2 separate regions of the Homo sapiens genome follow, and region 1 is linked to region 2. Evidence: promoter capture Hi-C in 16 types of primary human blood cells and fetal thymus (Javierre and others, 2016). All regions are on one chromosome and are shown on one strand. Each heading gives the region's core, a stretch centred on a gene start or on the middle of the fragment in contact. The rest is flanking DNA. Distances are from core to core; before and after follow the strand shown.

What was found. Contacts are between HindIII fragments. The CHiCAGO score rates a contact against its expected background, and 5 or more counts as called.
Region 1: a contact is called between a fragment that was not itself captured here and the fragment with the promoter of FOXF2 in region 2, in 2 of 17 cell types (activated CD4 T cells and total B cells). The highest score is 6.9, in activated CD4 T cells.

The regions. Positions count from the first base shown.
Region 1 is chr6:166,982-172,786 of GRCh38, forward strand. It overlaps the pseudogene ANKRD18FP. Among named protein-coding and RNA genes, the nearest start is that of LIRIL2R, 11 kb to the right of the region's middle. The HindIII fragment of the contact is 1,969 bases long and covers 312-2,280 here.
Region 2 is chr6:1,386,396-1,392,851 of GRCh38, forward strand. It overlaps FOXF2 (forkhead box F2), which reads left to right and starts at 3,181. Exons shown (of 2, transcript NM_001452.2): 1 at 3,181-4,723. The coding sequence starts at 3,553. It overlaps FOXF2-DT (FOXF2 divergent transcript), which reads right to left and starts at 3,066. Exons shown (of 3, transcript NR_187218.1): 1 at 2,624-3,066. MIR6720 (microRNA 6720) reads right to left here and starts at 4,016; the gene lies at 3,919-4,016. RefSeq lists an enhancer at 4,363-5,228. The HindIII fragment of the contact is 4,023 bases long and covers 912-4,934 here.

The sequences.
Region 1 (5,805 bases), core at 46-2,545, 1.2 Mb before region 2:
GCGCGGTGGCTCATTCCTGTAATCCCAGCACTTTGGGAGGCTGAAGCAGGGGGATCACGAGGTCAGGAGTTCGCGACCAGCCTGACCAGCATGGTGAAACTTCGTCTCTACTAAAAATACAAAAAATTAGCCGAGCATGGTGGCACACACCTGTAGTCTCAGCTACTTGGGAGGCTGACGCAGGAGAATTGCTTGAATGCAGCAGGCAGAGGTTGCAGTGAGCCGAGATCGCACCACTGTGAGCCGAGGTTGCATCACCACACTCCAGCCTGGGCGACAGAGTGAGACTCTGTCTCAAAAAAAAAAAAAAAAGCTTACCTTTAGTTATTAGGCAATAACATGCAATTTCTAAAACCTAACTTAAATGCAGTTTTTCAATCAATTTAAAATGTGTCAGTTTAGTTACATTTATTGAATCAAGTTAACAAATAAGTATCTCTTGAAAATGAGAGCTCCCAGGACTTATAAAAACCGTAAAGTTCCCATTTGCTTTCTGCATTAGCTAATTATGACCTTCACTTAACAAGCATAAGTCAATTGAACGACTCAGTATTTCACCAAATTAAAAACAAGAAGTATATTAGAAAAACAAAACCCAAAAGGGAAAAGGTAATATAACTAACCTCAGTCAAGCAGTTCATGCTGTTATTCGAAGTCTATGGGCTTGAAGTAGGGATCCTTATGGGTGTTTTGGAATATATTTTCTGTTGTGACCTATACTATTAAGATTTCCAACCCAGGGTGGCTCTGGGTCTGGCCTCATAGGCAGAGTGGTGGGAACAGATTTCATTTGCTCTTTCTCTATATGGAGCTTGCTGCTGACCATTGCTATTATCTCATTTGATCTGTACAGATAGCAAAAAACAAATGCCTAGTATTTTATTTTTCCTTAAATGATTCCTAAATGATTTGCAATTTTTAAAAAATTGCCCTGACAGCAAACAAAATTACCCACTAAACTGTTTTAACACCAAATGTGTGAGAGCATACCTGTTATAAGCAAGTATAATTTTAAAATCGTTCTTAAAAAATCACATATGTTTCTAAGAAGATTTCTAGTGAATAAGTAATTCAAACAAAGTAGGAAGGAGAGAGAAATGGCTATCGATGTACGGCTCAATAGGTAATGCTTGCTACCTTCTAGAAGGCTGTACTTATAAGATTCTGAGGATGCCATTAGAAATACTTGTATTCAGGCTGGGCACAGTGGCTCATATCTGTAATCCCAGCACTTTGGGAGGCTGAGGCGGGCAGATCACCGGGTCAGGAGTTCGAGACCAGCCTGGCCAACATGGTGAGAACCTGCCTCTACTAAAAATACAAAAATTAGCCAGGTGCAGTGGTGGGCGCCTGTAATCCTAGCTACTTGGGAGGCTGAGGCAGAAGAATTGCTTGAACCTGGGAGGCGGAGGTTGCAGTGAGCTGAGATTGCGCCACTGCACGCCAGCCTGGGCAACAAAGCAAGACTCCATCTCGGGAAAATTAAAAAAAAAAAAAGAAATACTTGTATTTAAAGGTAACTATGTGAGATGATATGTTAATTTGCTTGACTATAAGAACAACTTCACTATGAATAAACATATAGTAACGTGTTGTATGCCTTAAATAATATACAATTAAGAAAACTAAAACAAAAACAAAAACAAACAAAAACAGAAGCTAGAAATACTTGTATTTAGAAACCAGTTTCAGGATTTTAGAAATCACTCCTAAATATATTTTCAAACATTTGTTTTCACCACCCTTGTACATTTCACCCATTATCTAGGAAAAAATAAGCATTTCACACTGAGAAATAATTCAGAGCAAGAACTCCTAGGAGAGAACTAGATGGTTGGATTGGTGATCAAAAAGAACTAAAGCATCTCTGAAGGCAATCAGCCCTTAGCATTGTGACCAAGGCACTGGAGGTGGGGCTTGCCCTTTCTGTCTTCCACACACCCCTTCAGGCTGACCAAGGTGTTATTTTTAAACAACTTTGTAAATTACACTTTCTTTCATCCCTAGGATAATCATTCCCTATTTCACAAGCATGTCTTCCTGTAGACTGAAAAAACTATACAGAAAAGTTTGTCTCAAAGCGCCCTCTAGTGATAATACTAAAAATCACAATCAGGAAAGTTAAGTTACTAAATGCCAGGACGTGCCCAGAATAGTAGTAGTTTGGGCACTTTGAGTTTAGATTGTGACCTACTAAAAAACAAATTAAATTCATTAATATTTCCATTTAGAAGAATTCTGAAAAGTAATTTTACAGCAAGATCACTTTATTGACCATAAAGCTTCAAAAATGCTAAAAGACTAATAGACTAGGTTAACTACGTAAGATTTTTCAGGGGAAAAGGCCATACAAAAGTTAAAAAAAAAATGAGGGAAGAGACAGAAACTGTCCTTGACTAACATTTTAAATGTAAGTTTATTTACTAGCATTATTTTCAAAAATTATACTATCAGGATAGCTTTCACTTCCTACTAATCTCATGAAGTTGTCTCACTAAAAATTATGCTTTCATGGCAAATTAATGAACTTGATTGATTTTCTACAAGTGTATGTTTTGACTTATTTCTTTAAATTTTTTGACATGGATTTGTTAGCTTTTAATGTTATTGCAAAGACTTCCTTATATTCTTCTAATTCCGTAGTAAGCTCTTCATAAGCGGTTTTCATTTTGGAGAATTGACATTCCACGTCTTTCAGTCAGAGTTCTCTTTTATTCATCAAAGCCATATTATTCTCTTTTAACTGCTGTGTTTTTCATATTCTGCTTGTTTCTAAAACAAATAAAAAATCATACTTTTAAAACAATTATAACCTAATTAGTCTCTATTTGTTGCCTTTCATTTTGAGTCAGTGATTCAGAAAGCAATTTTAAATATGTGTTTTAAAAAGGGGCTGAAGTTTAAAACATCTATTAGCAATTTCATCTAAATTGATAACAGAATTCAGAATTAAATATGAATTATAAAAATTTGAAATCATTCTTGTTAGTGTTCATGTAATCTAATCATTTAAAAATAATAGAATCCATTGGAAATGTTAAAAACTGAACAATGTAGCGTAAGACCAATTCAAAAGTACCATATAATTTTAAATCAGAGTTTTCTTTTTCTAATAGTCTTATGCTAACTGGTTTTAATAACCAAATGACTGTATAGTGAAACTCACTACTCTGAAAGATCAACTTAGTTATAATCATGATGGAAATTTAAATATTTAAAATAAGAAACAGGTGCCACCTTTTTTTCTAAAACTCTACAAAGCAAATTCCTATAAGAGAGGCAGACAAAACACTGTATGTCTATATTATAATTTGCAGTGAAATAAATGAAAGCACATTACAGATAAACCTACCTGATTAAAAAAACTAACCTGTAAATTGATTTCTTCTAATTTTTCTATTTCCTGTCCTGCTCTTTCTTCCAACTGCAATTTACATTCTTCTACGTCACCAAATTCTACCATATTTTTTTCATGTGTCTTAAGATTCACTACTTCTTGTTCCAAAATTTTGTTAACCTCCTCAAGTTTTTTACATTTCTGTTGTACTTCTTTCATAGATAATAACTCCTGTTGAATAACTTGATTCTTTTTAGCCAAATATAGACATTTTTGAAGATATAGTTTCCAGCTCTGCTGTAAGTTCATCAAACTGCATAAATAAAATAGTACAGCTTGATAATGAAGTAGGCTGACACTATTTTATTATAAAACCAGTAACAAATTTTGAAATACATTTACTTGCAATAAAATGTTATCTATAATGCGGTAGATTCTTCCAACGTGAACGCTTAAATTACTCAGAAAATCAAGAACAAAGTTAAAGCCACCAAGAGTCAAAAAGATATATTAGTTACTTTTATCATCTTTGCCACAGAACTTTTGCACTTGATCTTACACTTTTATTTTTCTGATTGCTTATTTTTGTTCCTCCCTAAATGACTCTAAGTTATTTCTTAGTAGAAAGTTTCTAATCTCCTTCCTTCATGATCATGCCCAATAATTTCTAAAGAAGTTTTAGGGACATCATATTGAGTTATTTAGGCCAAGGTCAATAAATGGCTCTCAGAATAAGACTCTGAAAATAATAATCTAGGCCAGGTGTGGTGGCTCATGCCTGCAATCCCAGCACTTTGGGAGGCTGCAGCAGAACGATCACTTGAGGCCAGGAGTTTGTGACCAGCCAGAGCAACATAGTGAGACCCCCATCTTTACAAAAAGTTAAAAGCAATTAGTTAAAAACAATTACAATTAGTTAAAAACAATGACAAAAAGTTAAAAACAATTAGCCAGACATGGTGGCGCATTCCTGTAGTTTCAGCTGGTTGGGAGACTGAGGCAGGAGGATGGCTTGAACCCAGAGTTCAAGGCTGCAGTGAGCCATGACCACACCACTGCACTCCTTCCTGACTGACAGAGAAAGATCATATCTCAAAAAAAGACAAATTAATGCGTCCTGTAAATAAGGAGTATGATATGGTTTGGCTGTATCCCAACTCAAATCCCATTATGAATTGTATCTCCCATAATTCCCACATGTTGTGGGAGGGACCTGGTGGGACATAATTGAATCCAGGGAGTGGTTTCCCCCGTACTGGGCTTGTGGTAGTGAATATATCTCACAAGATCTGATGATTTTACAAGGGGTTTCCCCTTTCACTTGGCACTCCTTTCTCTCTTGTCCGCCACCATGTAAGACATGCCTTTCCCCTTCTGCCATGACTCTGAGGCCTCCCCAGCCATGTGGAACTGTGAGTTCATTAAACCTCTTTTTCTTTATCAATTACCCAGTCTCAGGTATGTCTTTATCAGCAGCATGAAAATGGACTAACACAGTAAGTTGGTACCAGTAGGGTGGTGTGCTGCCGTAAAGATACCCAAAAATGTGGAACTGGGTAATAGGCAGCAGTTGAGACAGTTTGGAGGGCTCAGAAGAAGACAGAAAAATGTGGGAAAGTTTGGAACTTCCTAGGGACTTGTTGAATGCCTTTGACCAAACTGCTGATAATGATATGGACAATAAAATTCAGGCTGAGATGGTCTCAGATAGAGATGAGGAACTCATTGGGAACTACTGTAAAAGTGATTCTTGCTATGTTTTAGCAAAGAGAGTGGTGGCATTTCGCCCCTGCCCTAGAGATATGTAGAACTTTGAACTTGAGGGAGATGACTTAGGGTATTTAGTGGAAGAAATTTCTAAGCAGCAAAGCATTCAAGAGGTGACTTGGGTGCTGTTAAAAGCATTCAGTTTTAAAAGGGAAACAGAACATAAAAGTTCAGAAAATTTGCACCCCGATAATGTGATAGAAAAGATTTTTTTCTGAGGAGAAAGTCAAGCCTGCTGCAGAAATATTCATACATAACAAGGGGCCAAATATTAATCACCAAGACAATGGGAAAAATGTCTCCAGGGCATGTAAGAGAACTTTGGGCAGCCCCTTCCCATCACAGCCCTGAAGGCCTGGAAGGAAAAAATGGTTTTGTAGGTATCCAGGCCCCCACTGCTGTGTGCAGCCCAAGGACTTGGTGCCCTGCATCCCAGCCACTCTAGATATGGTTAACAGGGGCCAAGGTACAGTTCAGGCTGTGGCTTCAGAGGTTACAAGCCCCAAGGCTTGGCAGCCTCCACATGGTGGTGAGCCTGTGGTTGCACAGAAGTTAAGAATTGAGGTTTGGGAACCTTCACCTAGATTTCGGAGGATGTATAAAAATGCCTGGATGTCCAGGCAAAAGTTTGCTGCAGAGGCAGGGCCCTCATGGAGAACCTCAGCTAAGGCAGTGTGGAAGGGAACTGTGAGGTTTAAGCC
Region 2 (6,456 bases), core at 1,931-4,430:
CAAAAGGAGGATGATGATACCTGGGCCACTTGGTGGGTGACAAGATGGTACCTGCGAGGTCTGTAACAAACAGATGCAGGGTTTAGTCACTGTAGACGTGGTGGTGGTCTATGCCATGAGAATAGTTTCCAGAAGCAGAAGTGGGGTATCCAAGAAAGAGTTTTGGAGAGGAGCCTTCCTGCTGATATAACTTAAGAAGGCCCCCAAGCTGCTTATCTTTCTGGAGTTCAGGGTCTACAGGGGCAGTATGCAGACCCCTACAGAGAGGGAAGGCTTCCAGTCAGCTGACCGCCTCCTGGCCCTAACTGCTCTCCAATGTCCACTGCCTTCCCACGACCTGGCCGGCCCTCATAACACTCACCACACTCTAAGTGGGATTTCTTGCAAGTTTAGAGTTTAGGTAAAATGGATACTGCTGTTGCTTGGATGGAGAAAGGAGCCTTTTAAAAAAATCCCTCATAATTTAACCAGCTGAATTGGTAGAAGCTAAAAGAATCTGGGGTTTTTTGCTTGTTTCCTTGTTTGTTTTAATGAGTACCTGTGGACTTCCTAAAATCTCAGGCAAGTTGGAAGTATTTTTCTGGAAACTGGCTCCATAGCTTCCATCGTATTCTCAGAGGATGACCCCATAACCCCAAAACTGGGAGCTACTAGTATAGAAGGTTATCACTGGTCCTGCCTGGATTTTAAGGTTAGCGCCTTTTATTCTTCAGTCTCCGGGTCCTAAAACCTTTTAAGGCCTGCTCTTAACAAGTTGGATCTGTATTCCCTGAGATCCAAATACATATAATTTTCAGGCACAGAGAATCAGAGAGAGTCCATGGCTAAGTGACAATGAGTACTGAATGTTTCCAAAGCCCGTTGCCCACCGCCCCCACCTACAAATGAGATAATTGTCCTTTTCCCCCACAAGCTTCTCCCCTGGGCTCTTTCCATTTAAAGCACACACACACACACACACACACACACACACACACTGAACTCTATGTCAGTAGAGCTCCTTTAAGATCCTATCTGTCCTCCCCACTCCAGCTTCTATTTTATGAAAATAATTATATTTTAGGCACTTAGAGCATTGGTTTAGTGAACACATTATATTTACTTTCATATTTAGTTATGTATTTTTAAGTTATTCCACACAAAATGACAAATGAGGGCAAGAGAAAAAAATACCATGAAATATATGGGGACGCACCCCCCAAAAACGCTCAGCAGTCAGTCAGAAATTCTTAGAAAGTGGAAACAACTGCGAAGCCCTACCCCAACCCAATCAAAACATCCCACCCGGAAAAGAGCGACTTGTTTCTTTTTTCTATTGGAAATGAGTGGTAAACTGAGTTCGGTTTGGCGGTGTTTTCTTAGCTGACTCTCGGCTACAATCAAGCCATTTTCGGACACATTCCCATGTAGGTACCAGGGGTGCTCTGGAGGAAGCTGTCGACGCCTGTTCAGCTAATTTAGGTTTTCTTTGTCTAATTACTGTGGAGCTTAGGGAGAAGGAGCCGGCTCAGGGCAGTAAACTGACACTCGGTCTCTGTGTGTGGTATCCAGGCAGGGTTTGATGGAAAAAGCCTGCTTCCACTCAACCTCAGGTCACTGTCTGGGGCCAGCCCCGGCCCACCCCCCTCCCACATACCCCTCCCCTCCCCACCCGCCCTCTCTGCATCTACAGCCCCACCAGCACACTCAGCCAGGAGCAGTCCCCCGGCACTCCAGGGGCACACAGGGCTCCTGCCGCCCCAGGGGGCCTGCCTAGGCTGTGCGGCTGTGAAGGCTCTTTGCCTGGTGTCTTCCTCCTGATTACTGCACAACCTCCCTTTCTCCTGCCTCCTGCAACTCCCCAGGCTCCCCAGCAGGCACACCCGTGCACCTCGGTCCTTTCAGCCTAGACGCAGCGGGGTGCCCAGCTCTACCTCCTGTTTGGTCCGCTGGTCTGCAGCACCTTCTTTCTGGGCCTCCCCCTTCAGCCCTTGGGAGGCCCCGCCAGCTCCGGCCTCCTGCTCTCCTCCTCCCTCTCCCAGCTCCTATCCCTGGTCGGACTACATTTCCCTGCACGTGTAATCCAATAACTAACTGTCGGGTCTCATTGGAAGTGATTGCTCCCGAGGGCACATCTCTCTCAGAGCCTGACTCTTACTTAGGGAGGAATTAGCCACAACTGGGGAGAAGTGTTCTCGGACAGGAGTTAGCTGAGACCTGGCACAGTTTTGGGTGGGCAATGTTAAGACGGAGGATGTAAACCTAGTGACAGCTGCACACCCCTTCAGGACTGACTATAAATATAGCCATCTCGCTTATCTCAGGGTCTTTCTTTTTCTTTCTCTTTCTTTCTTTTCTTCCTTCCTTCCTTTTTCTTTTGCACTTTTTTCTTACAGAACACTAACTGGGGTGCGGGGGTGGGGGGAAGAAGTGGAAGCAAATGCAACCCTAAGTCCCATGAGATCCAGGTTTCCAGAGTCTTTGAAACTTGGCCTAGGTTTCTCAGTGTAAATCCCTCTGCTCAAAGTTCCGAAAACGTCCACGATCGCCAGCGGCCCGCAACCCTGCGGCGGCCCCCAGTCGCCCTAACAATTGTCGGGGAGCCTGCAGGCCCTGCCAGAAAGAGAGAGGATTGGCACGTTACCTTTGGGCGTCTGGCACCCCGGCGTGTGGCTGAGGGCGGCAAAGTCTAAACGAAGTTGACAGATGGAGTCAGTATCGGCCCTGGGGAGGGCGGCCAGGGAGGCTCCGAGCAGCCGCACCCGCAGCAGCACCACTCGGCCCGGCGGGCCAGGAGGAGGAAGGGGGCGCGGAGGGGCGGGGCTGGGTCCTGGGATGGGACGCGGGGCTTGCTGCGGGGGGCAAACAGAAAGAATATTTCATGAAGTCAGAGGTGGTCGAGTTTTGCGAGGGGTGGGGGTCGTCCCCCTGGCAGAACCGGAGTGAGTCTGTGATCCCTCAATTGGAAAGAGGGTGAGTGAGGGAAAGGGGAGGAGGCCGCGAGAGGAATGAAGAGCGAGGAGACCCTGGAGAGCGGGGAGCGAGATAAGAGAGGGAGGCGGCCGCCAGGTCGGGAGGGGGAGGAGTGAGCGCGGCGGCGCGGAGCGAGGAGGGGGCAGGGCGGGGTGGGGGGGGAGGGAGGGAGGGAGGGAGCGAGGAGGGCGGCCGGGGAGGGCGAGGGAGGGAGGAAGTCCGAGAGACAGAGCGAGGAGCGCTCCTGAAGGGAGACGTCGGGCTCGTCCCCGGGGTCCAGGCCGCGGTCCCACTCGCGGGCGCAGTCGCCCGGCGCCGGCCGCTCGGCCCCGCGGCCTGGGAGGCCGTTGCGCAAGGCAGGGCCCGCGGCTCGGGGAGGGATGCGCCGGGCGTTGCCTCCCGCCCGCCGCCGCCGCCGCCGCCAGAAGCCCCAGAGGAGCTGAGGGAGGCGACGCCGAAGCGCTGGCCCGGAGTGGCCACGGCTGCAGCCCGGGCGGCGGGCTAGGGCGCTCGCAGGGCTTCTGGGCCGACCCCGCTCCGGCGCCTCCGCTTCCCGCCCGGGGCCCGCCCTCGCGGCCCGGCCTCGCTCCCGGGTCCCAGATGACCACCGAGGGCGGGCCGCCGCCGGCCCCGCTCCGCCGCGCGTGCAGCCCGGTCCCCGGCGCGCTCCAGGCCGCCCTGATGAGCCCGCCGCCCGCCGCCGCCGCCGCCGCCGCCGCCGCCCCGGAGACCACCTCCTCCTCCTCGTCGTCGTCCTCCGCCTCCTGCGCCTCGTCCTCGTCCTCCTCCAATTCGGCCAGCGCCCCCTCGGCTGCCTGCAAGAGCGCGGGCGGCGGCGGCGCGGGCGCCGGGAGCGGGGGCGCCAAGAAGGCGAGCTCGGGGCTGCGGCGGCCCGAGAAGCCGCCCTACTCGTACATCGCGCTCATCGTCATGGCCATCCAGAGCTCGCCCAGCAAGCGCCTGACGCTCAGCGAGATCTACCAGTTCCTGCAGGCGCGCTTCCCCTTCTTCCGCGGCGCCTACCAGGGCTGGAAGAACTCGGTGCGCCACAATCTCTCGCTCAACGAGTGCTTCATCAAGCTGCCTAAGGGCCTCGGGCGGCCCGGCAAGGGCCACTACTGGACCATCGACCCGGCCAGCGAGTTCATGTTCGAGGAGGGCTCGTTCCGCCGCCGGCCGCGCGGCTTCAGGCGGAAGTGCCAGGCGCTCAAGCCCATGTACCACCGCGTGGTGAGCGGCTTGGGCTTCGGGGCGTCGCTGCTGCCCCAGGGCTTCGACTTCCAGGCGCCCCCGTCGGCGCCGCTCGGCTGCCACAGCCAGGGCGGCTACGGCGGCCTCGACATGATGCCCGCGGGCTACGACGCCGGCGCGGGCGCCCCCAGCCACGCGCACCCTCACCACCACCACCACCACCACGTCCCGCACATGTCGCCCAACCCGGGTTCCACCTACATGGCCAGCTGCCCGGTGCCCGCGGGACCCGGGGGCGTCGGTGCGGCCGGGGGCGGCGGCGGCGGCGACTACGGGCCGGACAGCAGCAGCAGCCCGGTACCCTCGTCCCCGGCCATGGCGAGCGCCATCGAATGCCACTCGCCCTACACGAGCCCTGCGGCGCACTGGAGCTCGCCTGGCGCCTCGCCTTACCTCAAGCAGCCGCCTGCCCTGACGCCCAGCAGCAACCCCGCCGCCTCGGCAGGCCTGCACTCCAGCATGTCCTCCTACTCGCTGGAGCAGAGCTACTTGCACCAGAACGCTCGCGAGGACCTCTCAGGTAACGCAGCACGCTCCAGCCCAGCCAGCTGGGCGCACCGCTTCTAGGCCTCCAGGGCTGGCGGCCACTGCCACTCCCACAAACAGGGACCCCGAAGCTAGGAGGTCTGAGGGCACTGGGAAAAGCAGATGCTGGGGAAAGCCGGCATCTTATTCGTGGGAGCAGGGATCAGGGTCTTACTGTCCTCCCAGTATCCCTGGCCAGCAGCCGAAGCTTCAGAATTGTCTGGCTGCTGTGAGCGTGGTGTAAAGTCCCCTGCCTTCCTGGGCTCTTTGGGGATCCCTGTGCAGGAGACTGCAGGTCTCCCGTTCAGAGTCTCACTTAGCTTGGAGAGAAGGCATCTGGCCTTTGGGGAACTTGGTCAGGAAGCTGTGTCTAGTTCCTTTTGTCCCTTTTTTTCCTTGCGTTCATTTTGCTGTACTTCTGTCCCGAAGTAAATGTCAGAATCAGATATGTTCTGTATGTTGGGGTGTCTGCAGCGAGATGTTTGCAGCTGGGCAAGTGTTAAGAGGAGGGGGTGGGAGGGACAGAGCTGGATCCCAGGATCTTTCACTAAAGGGACATTTGCCAGTGGAGGGGGTCACCAAACTGTTGGAGACTCCTCCCCTTCCCTGCCTCCCCCCCCGCCCAACAATGGACCCACATTGATGATACAGGTCCTGGGTGGCAGGACCTGAAGGACCCTGCTAGGACTCCCCTGAGAAATGCGCCTGCCCTGTGGATGCCACTTGTAGTGTGGCTGGTTTACATTGTTCTGGTTGCAGATTATGAAAAATTATTGACTTGCTGAAGGCGGTGAAAGGTGGGAGGGGACGGTAGGGATGGAAGAGGGAATTTGAATATTTGACCAGGTTAATGTGAAGAACAGAGATAAACCCTTACATTAACCCCTCGCTCGGAGCACCTAGGGCTGCAGATTAAAATCCCATGGGCCTGCCAGTCAAAGGCAAGGCCCCAAGCTACTCTCTCACACTGGCCTCCCACAGCAATGAGACAGTGGCTTGGAGGGTGATGCATGCTTTATGTGTTCCTGAGCCGGTGTGCAGCGGGAGCACCCGGGGAGAAGGAAAGCCCAGAAATGGGCAAAAGATGTTGGTTCCCTGGACGGTGAAATTTCCCAAATAGGCCTTTTAAATGTGGGTCTCAGAGGTTAACCAAACAAAGACAGTCTCGGCAGGACCACACCGGAGAGGATTTTAGCCTGACTTAACCCACTGAGAACAGAGTCTTGTTCAATTTTATGGGAATTTCAACAAGTAACCAATACAGGCGGCCTTCCCCTCTTATTTTTGTATTCCCTTGGACCGGCTGTCAATCACACACACACACACACACACACACACACACACACACACACACCCCTCGGTGCACTGGCCCCTTCCCTTCCCCGCCTGCCTGCTCCTCTCCCAGCCTGCCAGCTGCCCTCCCTGCTCCCCTTCTTCTCCTCTCCCGGCAGATCCACTCAACTTGAACCCGGACTCTGAGGCTTAGCAGCCTTGGAGAAACCGTACTCTAGGAAGAAAAAAAAGCACACAGGAAAGAGACTCCTGACCCTTCCTCAAGGCTGCTCTCGCCCCACCTCATAACACTGGGCGCAGGCACAAGCTCCCAAAACTTCGGAATCTGGATACATTACTGTCTTGGAGGGGGTGAAAACTGCCCAGCAAAGCAAGCCGGCCTCTGTGCCCCTACCCAGCGGCCTCCCGCGGCCGGCCTTCCCTGGGAGCCTCGCA